Linked DNA regions of Homo sapiens: all the other regions are linked to region 1. Evidence: promoter capture Hi-C in 16 types of primary human blood cells and fetal thymus (Javierre and others, 2016). All regions are on one chromosome and are shown on one strand. The core of a region is centred on a gene start or on the middle of the fragment in contact, and the rest is flanking DNA. Distances in the headings are between cores, read along the strand shown.

Evidence for each region. Contacts are between HindIII fragments. The CHiCAGO score rates a contact against its expected background, and 5 or more counts as called.
Region 2: a fragment that was not itself captured here is called in contact with the fragment with the promoter of CHD9 in region 1 in 2 of 17 cell types (total B cells and erythroblasts); the score reaches 6.0 in total B cells.
Region 3: a contact is called between a fragment that was not itself captured here and the fragment with the promoter of CHD9 in region 1, in 5 of 17 cell types (total B cells, naive B cells, monocytes and 2 more). The highest score is 8.7, in total B cells.
Region 4: a fragment that was not itself captured here is called in contact with the fragment with the promoter of CHD9 in region 1 in 1 of 17 cell types (naive B cells); the score reaches 7.4 in naive B cells.

Annotation. Positions count from the first base shown.
Region 1 is chr16:53,053,282-53,056,889 of GRCh38, forward strand. CHD9 (chromodomain helicase DNA binding protein 9) reads left to right here and starts at 1,710. Exons shown (of 39, transcript NM_001308319.2): 1 at 1,710-1,796. RefSeq lists enhancers at 2,004-2,535, 2,048-2,097. The HindIII fragment of the contact is 11,983 bases long and covers 1-3,608 here.
Region 2 is chr16:53,267,607-53,271,170 of GRCh38, forward strand. It overlaps CHD9 (chromodomain helicase DNA binding protein 9), which reads left to right. Exons shown (of 39, transcript NM_001308319.2): 22 at 321-520. Among named protein-coding and RNA genes, the nearest start is that of RBL2, 170 kb to the right of the region's middle. The HindIII fragment of the contact is 1,021 bases long and covers 1,057-2,077 here.
Region 3 is chr16:53,187,922-53,191,502 of GRCh38, forward strand. All of the region lies in intron 2 of CHD9 (chromodomain helicase DNA binding protein 9), which reads left to right. Among named protein-coding and RNA genes, the nearest start is that of CHD9, 130 kb to the left of the region's middle. The HindIII fragment of the contact is 1,385 bases long and covers 1,104-2,488 here.
Region 4 is chr16:53,245,845-53,249,404 of GRCh38, forward strand. CHD9 (chromodomain helicase DNA binding protein 9) reads left to right here. Exons shown (of 39, transcript NM_001308319.2): 15 at 1-6; 16 at 1,449-1,659. Among named protein-coding and RNA genes, the nearest start is that of RBL2, 190 kb to the right of the region's middle. The HindIII fragment of the contact is 581 bases long and covers 1,298-1,878 here.

The DNA of each region.
Region 1 (3,608 bases), core at 460-2,959:
TCCTTCTCCTCCTGCTCCTCCTTGTCCTCCTCTGCCCTTGATATTCACTTTGACCAGATTACACCAGTACAGAGAGTCCAAAGGTTAAATAGGCACACACTCACACACAAACTCACACTGGGCTAGAACAATGACAGAGCGTCCTGGGGGAGCAGAGTGGGGGCCGGGGGGAGGGGGAAAGGAGGATTGCAGGCCTAACTTTCACAAATCACCTGAAATTTCCACTGAAGGCATTATCTCCAAATGTTGCCACAGAGATAAACTGCCAGGATTACAAGAAAACGTGAAGACGTTCCCATAGAACTCTGTAATGCTTATATCCATCACCAGGAATGTCTGCCCTTGGCGCCCTAAACATAGATTGATTGATTGATTGATTGATTGATTTTGAGGCAGAGTCTCACTCTGTCACCCAGGCTGGAGTGCAGTGGTGCGATCTCAGCTCACTGCAACCTCCTCCTTCCGGGTTCAAGGGATTCTCCCACCTCAGCCTTGGAGTAGTTGGGATTACAGGCTCCTGCCACCACGCCCGGCTAATTTTTGTATTTTTTGTAGAGACTGGGTTTTGCCATGTTGGCTAGGCTGGTCTCAAACTCCTGACCTCAAGCGATCCTCTTGCCTCAGCCTTCCAAAGTGCTGGGATTACAGGCGTGAGCTACGGTGCCTGGCCCTAAATATAGATATTTTTAATAAATCCTCTACTTATCTCACAACGAGCTCAATCGCTTTGCATTAGATCGTTGGGTGTGTTAAAAGTATTCATGTGTTACATTAAATGTGAATTCAACAAAAGCAGAGATTTTTGTGTTTTGTTCTTCATTGTATCCCTTGATTGTAGAAAAGTGGCACATAGTAGGTGCTCAGTTAATCGTTGTTAAATGAAGACATAAATGAAATATAAACCATTAAATGTCCACCATATTTGTAAGCGTTTTGGCATGTCTTCATTGAAAGAATACCAGGCAGCTGGGAGCCATAGTTTACTCCGGTAATCCCAGTGCTTTGGGAGGCTGCAGGTGAGAGGATCGCTTGAGACCAGGAGTTCAAGAGCCACCAGGGCAACATAGAGAGACCTTGTCTCTACAAAAACAAAACAAAACAAAACAAAAAACAAAAAACACAATTCCCTTAAGCCGCCCCTTCCCCTTCCACTGCTCAGAGAAGGCCTTCCAGCAGAGCAGAGCACGAGGTCGCTGGCACACACCCATCCTCCACCAGTCCTGGCCTCTGTAGAGCAAGCCAGCAGAGCAGGCTGTTTCTCTCATTCAGGGACGGTTTAGGGGGTGGCAGGAAAAAATGGTTGCTGATAGGCGAAGGGCCTCCCTGGGTTGGAGAGAACCCCAGCCTCGGATGGTCCCAGCACATTTAAAAGAGAAGCAGTGCCAAAGGTGGGGTGCACTGAAAGCTGCTGGATGAAGGGAAAGATCCTTGTGCTCAGCCCGGAAAACCGGAGGATGGATACCAGGCCGAGGGGTCCCTCCGTGCCCCAAGAGAAAGTTCACCAAGTTTAGATCCCAGTGCCCCGCAGCGGGTGAAGGTGGTCCCGCCCCAGGCCGGATCTGGCCACAGGGCTGGCGGCGCGCTGGAAAACCGCCCACGTGGGAAGAAGCCCTGGCTGCATTTCCGCCCTGGACTGCGCTCCCGCCTGCCAGCGCGGTCCCTGCGCAGCCGCCCCGCGCCCACTAGGTGGCGCCTGCGCTCTAGTGGGCGCTTCACAGGCGCAGCGACAGCGACAGCGACAGCTCGAACCTGAGTCCCAGGATTCCGGGGACTGGAGGGCAGCGCCGGCAGCCAAGGTAGGATTCCTGAGCCCCGGGCGTCTCCCTGGAGCCTCTGAGGTCGGGGTGGACAGCGGGGCGGCCGCTGGGCACCGCTTGCGGTCTGCAGAGATAACCGGAGGAGTCGGGGCGGCAGCACGTGTTGTAGCCGTGGGGGGGACCCAGAGACCCGCAGCCTCGGAGCTGGGCCTAGAGCAAGGCAGAGCACCAGGTCGCTGGCACGCTCGCATCCTCCCCAGCCCTCGCCTCCCAGAGCATGCCCGAATCCCCAAGCCGGGCGTCCTCGAAGCGGAAAGCAGCCACTGTCGCCCAGAGCCACTCCAGGGTGGCAGCCGAGTGCTGATAAGGTCCAGAGCACCACTTCTTAAACTTGTCTGCCCGTTGGCGTTGCTTGGGAAGCATTAAAAAAATACCGATGCCCTAGTTCCACCCCCGCCCCCCCCCAGAGACTCAGATGTGATTGGTCTGGGTGGGGGACTGGACATCTGGGTATTAAAATGTTTGCAAGAGATTCCAGCTGGCAGCCAAATTTGAGGACCCTTGATCTAAGGAGTTGGAGAAAAACGGAGGACATTTGTTTGTTCTAACCCAGAATGCTGATGATTCCCTCCTCCTCCTATTCCTCCAGTTCGCCCTCCTCCTCCTTTCTCATGTGCCTTTTAAGCAGGAAATGCCTCTGCCTTTGTACTGTCAAACCCAAGATAACAAACTAACCATCCCCCACCCCCCACAGTAGGGCTGGTTCTGAAAGGGTTGAACTCGAAAGTGGACAAGGAACAGAAAGACACCAGTGTGGAATGTGAGCGAAGACTCTTAGGGGTTTATGGGTAGGAAGGGGGTTCCTCCCCACCCTGATCCCAGAGAAGATCAGGAGACTGGCTGGAGCTGTCTTCCTCATTTTGGCAAACCTAGCTGATTAGGCAGTGAGAGGCCTTATAACGAGCCTTTTTTACAACTAGTAAAAGGGCCCTTTTACAACTAGTAAAAATGAGCCCTTATGTTTGTTTGTTTTATAGAGATAGGGCCTCACTATATTCCCCAGGATGGTCTCAAACTCCTAGGCTCAAGCCATTCTCCAGCCTCGGCCTCCCAAAGTGCTGGGATTATAGGCATGAGCCGCTGCGCCCCGCTGACCCCTTATGTTTATATAACAGCAGTGTTACTAACATGGGCATAGATTCCCCCCCATAGGCAGCCCTTCCTTTGTGACCTTGGAAACTCACTGAACCATCCTCAGCTTCAGTTTTTGTATCTGCAAAATGGGTGTGAAAATCGGGTTGCCTTGGGAATTATTCACAATAAAAGCTACTGTTTACTAAGGGTTCACCCTATGCTAGAGGCTTTCTGTGCAGGGCCAAGTTAGACTCCTGACCATAACTTCCACGGTAGAACTATGAATACTGCATTTGATAGCCAAGGAAACTGAGGCTCAGAGAGGCCAATGATCTTGCTCGAAGTTATATAATTAATTAATAAGAAGCATGTCCCATATTTGAACCCAGGCAGTCTGCTCTTGAGCTCAGGTGCAAAAGAACAATACTCTGCTGTTTCCCTTGTTGACCAGGACAGCGTGCACGGGGCAGGCGCGTGGTGTGTCTTCACAAACACTAGCTATCACTGCTGTGAGCTGAGCACTTCCACTGAATTGACTCATTCGCTCATTGGAAATACATTTATTATTGAGAGCCTACTGTGGGCCAGGCAGTTTTCCAGATGCTAGAGATAAAATATGAGTAAGACAGAATTCAGCCAGCCCCGAATGAGAGAAACAGGAAGAAAGTGCAGTAGATTCTCATTATTCACAAGTTCTAAATTTGCAAATTCTTCCCT
Region 2 (3,564 bases), core at 317-2,816, 210 kb after region 1:
AAGTACTCTATTTTTAGCATATATTTAAGAGCAGAATGATGAGATTATCCTCAAGTATTTAAATTTTCAAAGTATCACTAAAGTCAAACTTCTTGTCCTTAAATTCGCATATTCAGTAATACAAATTAGATGTTATCCATTACTGAATAAAATATACTAGAAATTACTATACCATTCCTCTACATTCTATGCATGGGTAGGGAAGACTTAATTAGCAAAAATGACAATTTTTTAAAGTTTTTCATTCCTTTTATCTATGAGTTAATATTTTTCTCTAGAACTTGACTCAATATCAATGTAACTATACCTTTTTTAACCAGGTGGGGCCGATGGAGAGAGATTCTATCTCATGGCCGTTTCAAAAGGCAGCTAAATGAACACGATGTAGAGATAATTTGCCGAGCTCTCTTAGCATATTGCCTTGTTCACTACCGAGGAGATGAGAAGATTAAAGGTTTCATATGGGATCTCATTACTCCAACTGAAGATGGACAGACACGAGAGCTACAGAATCATCTAGGTAAGAACATTGTTTCATTTGCTTTTAAAATTTATTTTTAGTTATATAAGTAATACTTAACATATTCTCCTATAAAATATAAAAGCATTACAAATAATATTAAGGAACCTTAACCTTCACTCCCAATTCAAGTTCCAGCTTCAGAAAATGCCAGTGTTATCAGTTTGGTGGATTTTACATTTTGTTATCAAATACGTATCTGTTTGGAATTGATGACCCAACTAAATGTCTTAGAGGTCTTTCCGTCTATGCTCAGATAGATCTATCTCATTTTTTAAGTTCTGCTTAGTATTCCGTAGTATGGATATTCCATAATTTATTTAGTATCTCCTTTGATGATGGGTGTTTAGGTAGTTTCAATTTTAGACAATTAAAAAACAAGTTTCAGAGAAGATCCATGTACCCTCCTCCTTGTGCATATAAATAAATCTTTCACTAAAGTAGATATCAAGAATGGAATTATTAAAGTATAGCTTATATACATCTTTAGAACCTAAAATGTGGTCTCTGGGTCAGCAGCATCAGCATCTTCTGGAAGCTTCTTAGAAATGCAGAATCTTAGGCCTCAGATTTACTGAATAAGAATCTGCATTTTAACAAGATCCATAGGAATTAGTGTACATATTAAAGTTTGAGAAACATTGATATGCAATTTTAAATTTTCATAATACTTTTTAATTTTTGTTTATTATTTGAGACAGGATTTTGCTCTGTCCCCCAGGCTAGAGTACAGTGATGCAAACATGGCTCAATGCAGCCTCAACCTCCTGGGCTTAAGCCATCCTTCTGCCTCAACCTCCTGAGTAGCTGGGACCACAAGCATGTAGCACCACACCCGGCTTTTAAAAATTTTTTTATATTGCAGAGTCAGGGTCCTACCATGTTGCCCAGGCTGGTCTTGAACTCCTGAGCTCAAGCAATCCTTCCCCCTCAGCCACCCGAAGTGCTGGGATCACAGACATGAGCCACCATGCCTGGCCTAAATTTTCATTATACTTTAATTTGCTGTCCAAAATGGTTATGCCAATTTACAATCCTCTCAGAGGTATACGCTAGTACTTTTTGCTCCTTAGCCTTCCTAACAGAACATTCTTTTTTGCATGAAATAATTATTTTATAGCATAAAATAATTGAATTTCCAGTAAAAAATAAAAAGAATTACTATGCCCTTAAATTTGTTACAATTTTATTCTACTTAATCAAAAAATATCTGTTGAATGGCTGGTGTGTGTCTTGTGCAAGGTGTTGAAAAGATAAGAAGAAACAAGATAGACAAGATCCCTGAGCTCATGAACCTTACATTCTAACCAGGTAGACAGACATAGTAAGAATGTACATTAGTTATAGATTGTGGTAATTACTGTGAAGTAAATAAACTATTGAGATGGAAAACAACAGAAAGCACCCATTTTAGATAGGGTGGTCAGTGTAGGCCTATTTTAATAGGAGACAGTGAGTTTAATTAATGTGAAGACCTGACTTCTAGGTAGATGGAAGAATCACACAAATGTAATTTCACTCTTTCTTGAAACTCCACTAGAAAAAAGTAAGGCACTAAGCTTAACAAATTCTACAGAACAAAAGACTTGGATTCCTCAACAAATAAATTATCGGATTAGGAGTGAATAGAGAGGTATCTATTCACAGCCAAAGATGACTTTCTGCCCCAATCCCACCCCTACCACAGACTATCACAACCTTCAGCGTGTTACTGGCATCTAGTGGGTAGAGGCCAGGAGTTCACAGATAGTCTCCCGCCCCCCACAATGAAGAAATATCCTGCTCAAAATATTGTAGTGCCAAGATTGAAACCCTGCTATAACCTAAAAGAGATTGAAAAGTTATCAGCCAGTTGCAGTGTGGGGTCTGGGGACTTTATTTTTATTTTTATGTTTTGTGACAGGGTCTCGTTCTGTTGCCCAAGCTAGAGTGTTGTGACGTGAACACGGCTCACTGCAGCCTCAAACTCCTGGGCTCAAGTGATCCTCCTCCCCTATAGCTGGGAGTACAGGCGTGTACCATCACACCTGGCTAATTTTTTTTTTTTTTTTTTTTTTTAGAGGTGGAGTCTCACTTTGTTGCCCAGGCATGTCTCAAAATTCCTGAGCTCAAGTGATCCTCCTGCCTCAGCCTCCCAAAGTGCTGTGGGGGCTTTATTTAGATCCTGATTGAAACAAATAACCCAGAGGAAATGTTTTATTATCTTTATTAACTAATTAGAATGTTGAATACCAAATATTAAGAAGCTATTATTGCATCTTAGGGCTGATAATAGTGTTGTAGCTATTTTAATGGAGGCTTTATCACTAAATAGATACCTCTGTTAAATTAAATTTAGATACCACTAAATATCTTTTAGATATTGCTAAAAGATACCGTTGATATTTATGAATGAAATGATTGATTTATTACATTTACTTCAAAATAATGTGAAAGATTGGGGGTGAACAAAATTGGCCATGAGTTGATAATTATTGAATGTGGATAATGGGACTGTTGTATATACTTGTATTCTATAATTTTAAAATAAGCATAAACTCTCAAAAATGGGAGAGGAAACGGCAACAAGATTTTGGAAGCTGGAGGCAAATATATTAGTGGTAACTGATTTAACCAACCTGAGAGGGCTGAATCTTAGGTCAGCAGTGGGAAAGGCAAACTGCTTTGCTTTACAGATTTCCCAAATGTCTTAGGAATTTGTGACATCAGGAACCTCTGGAAGTGGGTGTATAAGGATAGAAGCTTTCATTCAAAGCGGTTTAAAAAAAGGCCCTAAATACCCTCTTCAGTTCCATGTAGCCAGGATGAAAACTGACTCAAAATTTTTTCTCTGGAAAGAGTAAAATAGAAGTCTGGATTGCACTGGTAGTTGAGTTGTAGAGCTACTAAATAGGGATTAAATAACTGTGTGCATTCTGGTTGTTCTATTACTCAAGGAATAAAACTAAAGGGCTTGCCCCAAACCTAAAGATAATGACAGGAGAAAAAAAAAAAACCCAGCCAGTTACCCTTCAGTGAGCCCACAATCACTATGCTCCATCCCT
Region 3 (3,581 bases), core at 546-3,045, 130 kb after region 1:
AAAGCAGAAATGAGTGTTTCAAATGTTAATGTTTTCACCACTCCCAAAAGAAATCCCACATCTGTTAGCAGTCGTTCCTAATTTATTCCTAACACCCTAACCCTAGGCAACCACCAATCTACTTTCTGTCTATGGATTTGCCTATTCTGAACATTTCAAGTAAATGGAGTCATGAAATAATGTGATTATGATGGGCTTCTTAGCATAATATTTTCAGAGTTCATATATGTTGTAGCATGTAACAGCACTTCATTTTTAATTGCCAAATAATATTCCATTGTATGGATATGTACCACATTTTATTCATTTATTAGTGATGGATATTTCAGTTGTTTCCACTTCTTGGCCATTATGAATGATGCTGCTATGAATGTTCCCATACAGGCTTTCTTTTCTCTTGCATATATTCCTAGGAATGGAATTGCTGGATTATATAATTCTTTCTTATGTTTGACCTTTTGGGTAACTTTTATATTTTTCCAGAGCAGCTGTACCATTTTACATTCCCACAGGTAGTGTATAAGGGTTCCAATTTTTCCATACTTGCCAATGCCTGTTTTTATGTCTTTTTTTTATTGTAGCCATCTTGGTATAAAGTAATGTCTTGTTGTGGTTTTGATTTGCATTTCCCTGATTGCTAATGATACTGAGCATTTTTTCATGGGCTTACTGGTCATTACCTTTTTTTTTTTTTTTTTTTTTTTTTTTTGAGATGGAAGCTGGCGTGCAGTGGTACCATCTCGGCTCACTGCAACCTCCACCTCCCAGGTTCAAGCAGTTCTTCTGCCTCAGCCTCCCGAGTAGCTGCAATTACAGGTGCTTGCCACCACGCCTGGCTAATTTTTTGTATTTTTAGTTTCATCTTGTTGGCAAGGCTGGTGTCAAACTCTTGACCTCAGGTGATCTGCCCACCTCAGCCTCCCAAGGTGCTGGGATTACAGGCGTGAGCTACCGTGCCTAGCATTGTATCTTTTTTTTAGAGAAATGTCTATTCAGATCTTTTGCCCATATTTAAATTGGGTTACTTATTTTTGTTACTGATTTGTAGGAGTTATTTATATATTTTAGATACAAATCTCTTATCAGGTTTTTTAAATTGAAAAAGCTTGACATCAGATATTTGATTTGCAGATTTCCTTGGGTTTTTTTTTCATTTGAAAGATCGTAGCTTCCAAATATAAAGATTAAAGATAATTTTATTTCTTGCTTTCCAATCTAGGTGTTTTTTATTGCTTTTTCTCTTCTAATTGCCCTGACTAGAATTTTCAGAACAGTGTTGAATAGAAGTGACAAGAGTAGATAACCTTGTCTTGTTCATGATCTTAGGGAAAAGCATTCAGTCTTTCACCATTAAGTACTGTATGATGTTAGTTGTGGGTTTTTCATACATGCCTTTTATTATGTTGCAAAGGTTTCTTTTTATTCCTAGTTTGTTTTGTGTTTTTATCATGAAAAGATGTTGAAACTTTGTCAGATTCTTTTTCTTCATCGCATTTAGTTTTTATTTGTGATCATTTTAGTTTTTATTCTTTATTCTGTTGATATGATTTTCAGATATTAGCCTTGCACTCCTAAAATAAATCCTACTTGTCGATGGTATGTATCTCTCTCTCTATATATATATGTATTATATATATTTTTTTTTCCTGGATTAGGTTTGCTATTATTTTGTTGAAAATATTTGTGTCTGTATTAGCAAAAGATACTGCTCTGCAGTTTGAATTTATGATTTGTACTAGCGTTTGCTGTGTTTGTATTTTGGCTTTAATGGGTCATCCTGGATAATTGCATTAAACTGAACAATTAGCAAAATATTTTTATAGCCTTTTATCAGACTTTAGTGCATTTGTAGACTGTGCAATTTTTTCCATGTCTTACAGGATGATAGCGGAGGTATAAATGAAGATATATTTTATTCAAATATTTGAGATCAACAAAATAGACGGAAAGCTAATGTTGACAGTATATGTGACCTGTAATCATTTAAGTACTTTTGTACTTGTTTTTTTGCATCTATATTATGGGGATACACTTTAATATTACATTTATTATCCCTCAACCTCTTATTTAAAATACTTTTGAGTATTCTAAAAATGTCACATTGAACCATGATTTTCCCCCAACCCTACCTCCCAAACTAGAACAGAACCAACAAACTTCTGGTCCACATTGGTCCCCAAATTATTCTTAATATCACCTTTCCCATTGAAGAGCAAATTACTGATTAAATCTCTCTATTTGTAAGATTATAGCAGTTTACAATATGGCTTTCTTTCCAGATGGTAGAGGTGGGTGGAGACAAACCTAATTTCTTTCTCAATTAAAAACGTTTTATACTAGAAGAAATAAAATGGGTTTTGAAAGATATAAAAGAGTTGTTTTTGTCTACACTGAGAATCAAAAATTTTATAGTTTTGCTACCCAATCCATTCAAGCTCATTTTCTGCTCGTTCTCTGTGGACTCTGAGAATGAGCCTTTAATATGTTAAGCTTTATCATGACGCGCCAAGGAGGAGGAAATACAAGGCTGCATCTCAGAATTTTACATGAATCTGAGTGTTTTAATATCTCACAATTTCCTGGAATATAACTTACGAAATTTTTTTCTACACAGTTATTTCACTTGTTATGCCTTTGGTTATGCTTATCTTCCTCCATTGAATATCTTATTATCTCATCATTATAAAAATTAGCTTATTTTCTGAGAACACTTTCAAGTCTTCCTTGCCCCTCTAGTTTATATTGATTTACCATTTTCCCCATATCTCTGGTGTGTTTCCCAGAGAGTCTGTTTTTTGTACCTCTATGTAATAGGTTATTAGCAAATATTTTCTAAATTGAGTATCTGCCACTAACAACAGGCCAGCATAAATTATAGAAATTAGTATAATATAATCTAATTTTACTTTGTAGTCAAATAATTAAAACTAATAAAAGAAGAGGAGTTATTAAACAGATAAGTCAGGGTAAAATTAATCCTGTTACATATGTCCACTTAGTAAGTACATTTTAAAATCAATTTTATTGAGGCATAATTTACATACAATGAAATGTACCCATTTTAAGTGTAATCTGATGATTTTTGACAAATATATACAATTAGGTAATCATTACCGCAATTAAGATATAAAATGTTTTTATAACCCTAAAAAGTTCCTTATGCCCCATTGCAGGTAGTCTTCCTCCCATCCCTGGCCCCAGGCAATCACTGATTTACTTTCTGCCACTATAGATTAGTTTTGCCTGTTTTTAATTTCATATAAATGGAATCATGCTGTACCTACTTTTTTCTTTATGGCTTTTTCACCATTTATATTATTTTAAACATTTATGTCTTCTCATGTATCAGTTCATTTCTTTCTCATTCTTTCTTTTTTTGAGTTATAATTTACACACAGTCAAAAGTCACTCTTTTTAGTGAACAGTTCTAACTGACAGATATATACATATAAGTAGCTACACCAGTAATCAAGATAAAGAATAATTACATCAGCCCTCAAAATTTCTTCCTACCTCTTTCAACCACCACTGCTGGCAGCCTCTGATTTGTTTTTTGCTCCTATAGTTTTTCCTTTTTGAGA
Region 4 (3,560 bases), core at 338-2,837, 190 kb after region 1:
TAAAAGGTAGCTAAAAAAGATTACAACAAATATGTTTTTTCTTGCAACAAATACTAATGAATAAATAAACAGAACACACTACAGCTGTAGTGGCTGTTATGACTCTCCACTGTGATATTCTAAGGAATTACAAGTGTTACAGAATCAGAGGCAATGTGAACTGCTTTGTTACAGTGACTGATGTTAACACACCAGGTTATGACAGCAGCAGTTTGTTCAGTATAATTTGGACTAGAATTTGTCCTCTTGTTTAATCCTCCTCATAGGCAAAGACAGCAAAGCCCATTTTTGGGGCTTCTGCATTGCCATTTTTTTCCTGGTTTCCTTCCAGTCAAGATACATCAGTTAGTGTTTCAATTCTTGTGCTGTAATAATGTTACTTTTTAAGATCTTATCAGGTTCTTTCCCAGTGTTCTCTCTGTACAATGTTTGGGTTTTTCACTTATTCTTGGGAATATACGCCTCTCTACTCACTTTATTCAAGACAACTGAAGTCTCTTGTAGTTACAGTACTCTCTTATGGCTAGACAGGCTGAGGAAAGGAATACAGAGAGCCTCTTTAATTCTGATTTGGATTATCCGAAGGAAGTATGCATCAAGCACCTGTAACATGGCTTTCATTTTAATTTATTCTCTTCTTTCTTTCTTTTTCTGTGTTTTTTTGTTGTTGTTGTTTGTTTTTGTTTTTGTTTTAAGATACAGTGTCATTCTATCACCCAGGCTGGAGTACAGAGGTGTGTTCATAGCTCACAGTAGCCTCAAGCTCCTGGAAACTGACCCTTCTGCCTCAGCCTCCTTAGTAACTAGAACTAGGCATATGCACCACCATACCCAGCTGATTTCTTTTTTTTTTCTTTTTGGTAGAGATGGGGTCTTGTTATATTGCTCAGGCTGGTCTCAAACTCCTGGCCTCAGGAAATCCTTCTGCCTTGGCCTCCCAAAGTGCTGAAATTACAGGCACGAGCCACTGCACCTAGCCTTAATTTTTTCTTGTTTCCTTGTTTTGATGGCTAACAAGATGCCCATAGACACATCCAGATCAACTATGATCATCCTTCAGTGATGACCACTGTTATGATTGCTGTTTAAATATTAGATATTTAAAAATATATGTGTTTACTCAACTGAGTTAGGACCACAGTTTTATTTTTTCCCTAATAACATTCATTAAACATTTGGCAAACATAAATTTATAAAAGGCATTATGCCAGGTATCTGAGGAGACAAAAAGATGTTTAAGACCTTGTCTGTGTCCTCAATGGAATTACAGTCTGGTATTGGTGGAGGTTCAGCAACAAGCTTAAATAATTCTAATAAAAGCAATGTACATGCCATTAGAAAATTATGTTACAGAAGCACACAGGAGCACTAATTGTGATTAAAAGGAAAGCAATTGGGAATTTCCTGCATTTGCACATTGCTGTTATCTTCTCCTATTTCTTTGACAGGTGCTGAGGAGAAAATACTTGGAGAATTTAGAGATACTTACAATCCAGCTGCTTCTGATTTTCATCTTCAAGCAATGATCCAGTCTGCTGGTAAATTGGTCCTTATTGATAAATTGCTTCCCAAAATGAAAGCCGGAGGTCATAAAGTGCTCATCTTCTCTCAAATGGTTCGTTGCCTTGACATTCTGGAGGACTATCTCATACATAAAAGGTAAAGCATACTGAATTTACTGTGAATTATGCTAAGTATATGCTATTAAGATTTGTGCAGCACTGTAATGTAAATGAACTTTACTCATATCTTTCTCTTTGCTAGATTAGAATAATGCATTCAAATTTATAAGTAAAGATTGTTTAGGATTATGTGTTATATTTTCCTAACCTGCATATGTTGCAATATTAGATGTGCCTGAGGAGTCCAATTAAGAAAAGCTTGCAAATAAATATTTGTTTACCCAGGAATGGGTTTAAAAATGTACATTTTACTTGATTAATAAACCTTGTGGATGAAACTTTAAATAGATATATATTTACAACAGTCATCTTCAAAATTGAAAAAAGTGATTCAAGAACTTTGGATCTATTTCATTGTTATAATTAGAGCCTTAAGTTGTGGGACTTTTATTCTTATTATATACTATATAAAATTTGTTCATGCTTTAATTTTTTCTGATTTGTTTCAATGTGGGTTTTTTGTTTTGTTTTGTTTATTGGTACATCACAATAAGATAGTGTTAAATATTGTCTAATCAGGCCGGGCGCGGTGGCTCACGTCTGTAATCCCAGCACTTTGGGAGCCTGAGGCAGGCGGATCATGAGGTCAGGAGATCAAGACCATCGTGGCTTACACGGTGAAACCCACGTCTCTACTAAAAAAAAAAAAAATACAAAAAATCAGCCGGGCATGATGGCGGGCACCTGTAGTCCCAGCTATTCGGGAGGCTGAGGCGGGAGAATGGCGTGAACCTGGGAGGCAGAGCTTGCAGTGAGCCGAGATCGTGCCTCTGCACTCCAGCCTGGGCGACAGAGCGAAACTCTGTCTCAAAAAAAAAAAAAAAATTGTCTAATCAGTATTTAGGCTATAATAGGCTAATTATCGTAGGATATTTTATCAGACCATTAGGATTCCATCTGATAGTAACATATTAATGTAAAAGAGAATCAGAAATTTCAGCTATAGATTTTTTATTTTATTTTTTTTTGTTTGTTTTTGCTTTGTTGGTTTTTTTTTTTGTTTTTTTTTTTTTTTTGAAGACAGGGTCTCACTGTGTTGCCCAGGGTGTTGTGCAGTGGTGTGATCATAGCTCATTGCAACCTCGAACTCCTGAGCTCAAGCAATCCTCCCACCTCAGCCTCCCAGGAAGCTGGGACTACAAGCATGCACTACCACACCCAGCTAATTTATTTTGGGTAGAGACAGGGTCTCACTGTGTTGCCCAAGCCGATCTCAAACTCCTGGGCTCAAGCAGTTCTTCCACCTCAGCCTCCCAAAGTGCTAGGATTATAGGCATGAGCCACTGCACCTGGCTTGCAGATTTTAATTCAATAGATTTTAACCCATATAGATAAGTAAAGGTCTATACTGATTTATATTATTAGAGATTATGTAGTTCATTTTTATTTTTCATTTTTATTTCTAGTTCCATTTTTATTGTCAATGTCCTACTCTTTAGCCTCATTTTAAAATGTATAGTATTCTCAATTTTATATCATGTGATACGAACATTAAGTTGCACTGTTCCCAAAAATAGTAATTCTTATATTTTTTTAATCTTCTTACGTGGAGAACTTCATACAGATAAAATTACTTATCAATTTCTGTTGTAATAAATTTCATGGAAAATTCAGAGTTTCTTTATTGTCATAACAAACATTATTAGAAGTCTCCATTTTGCAGGTACCAGAGATAACCGCGGAGAGACTGCTAAAACTCTAGTAAATCATATGTAGAAGTGTGTCAGATGTCATATGTATACCACTTAGAGTCCAAGCTCCTAAATTTTTATGTATTTTATTTTTATTTGATGTCTTGCAGTTTTTGAGTTTTGTATATGTTAAATGGGGAAGGATAAAGGAAGTTAAAAGATAATCACTTTGCAGTAATGACTATAA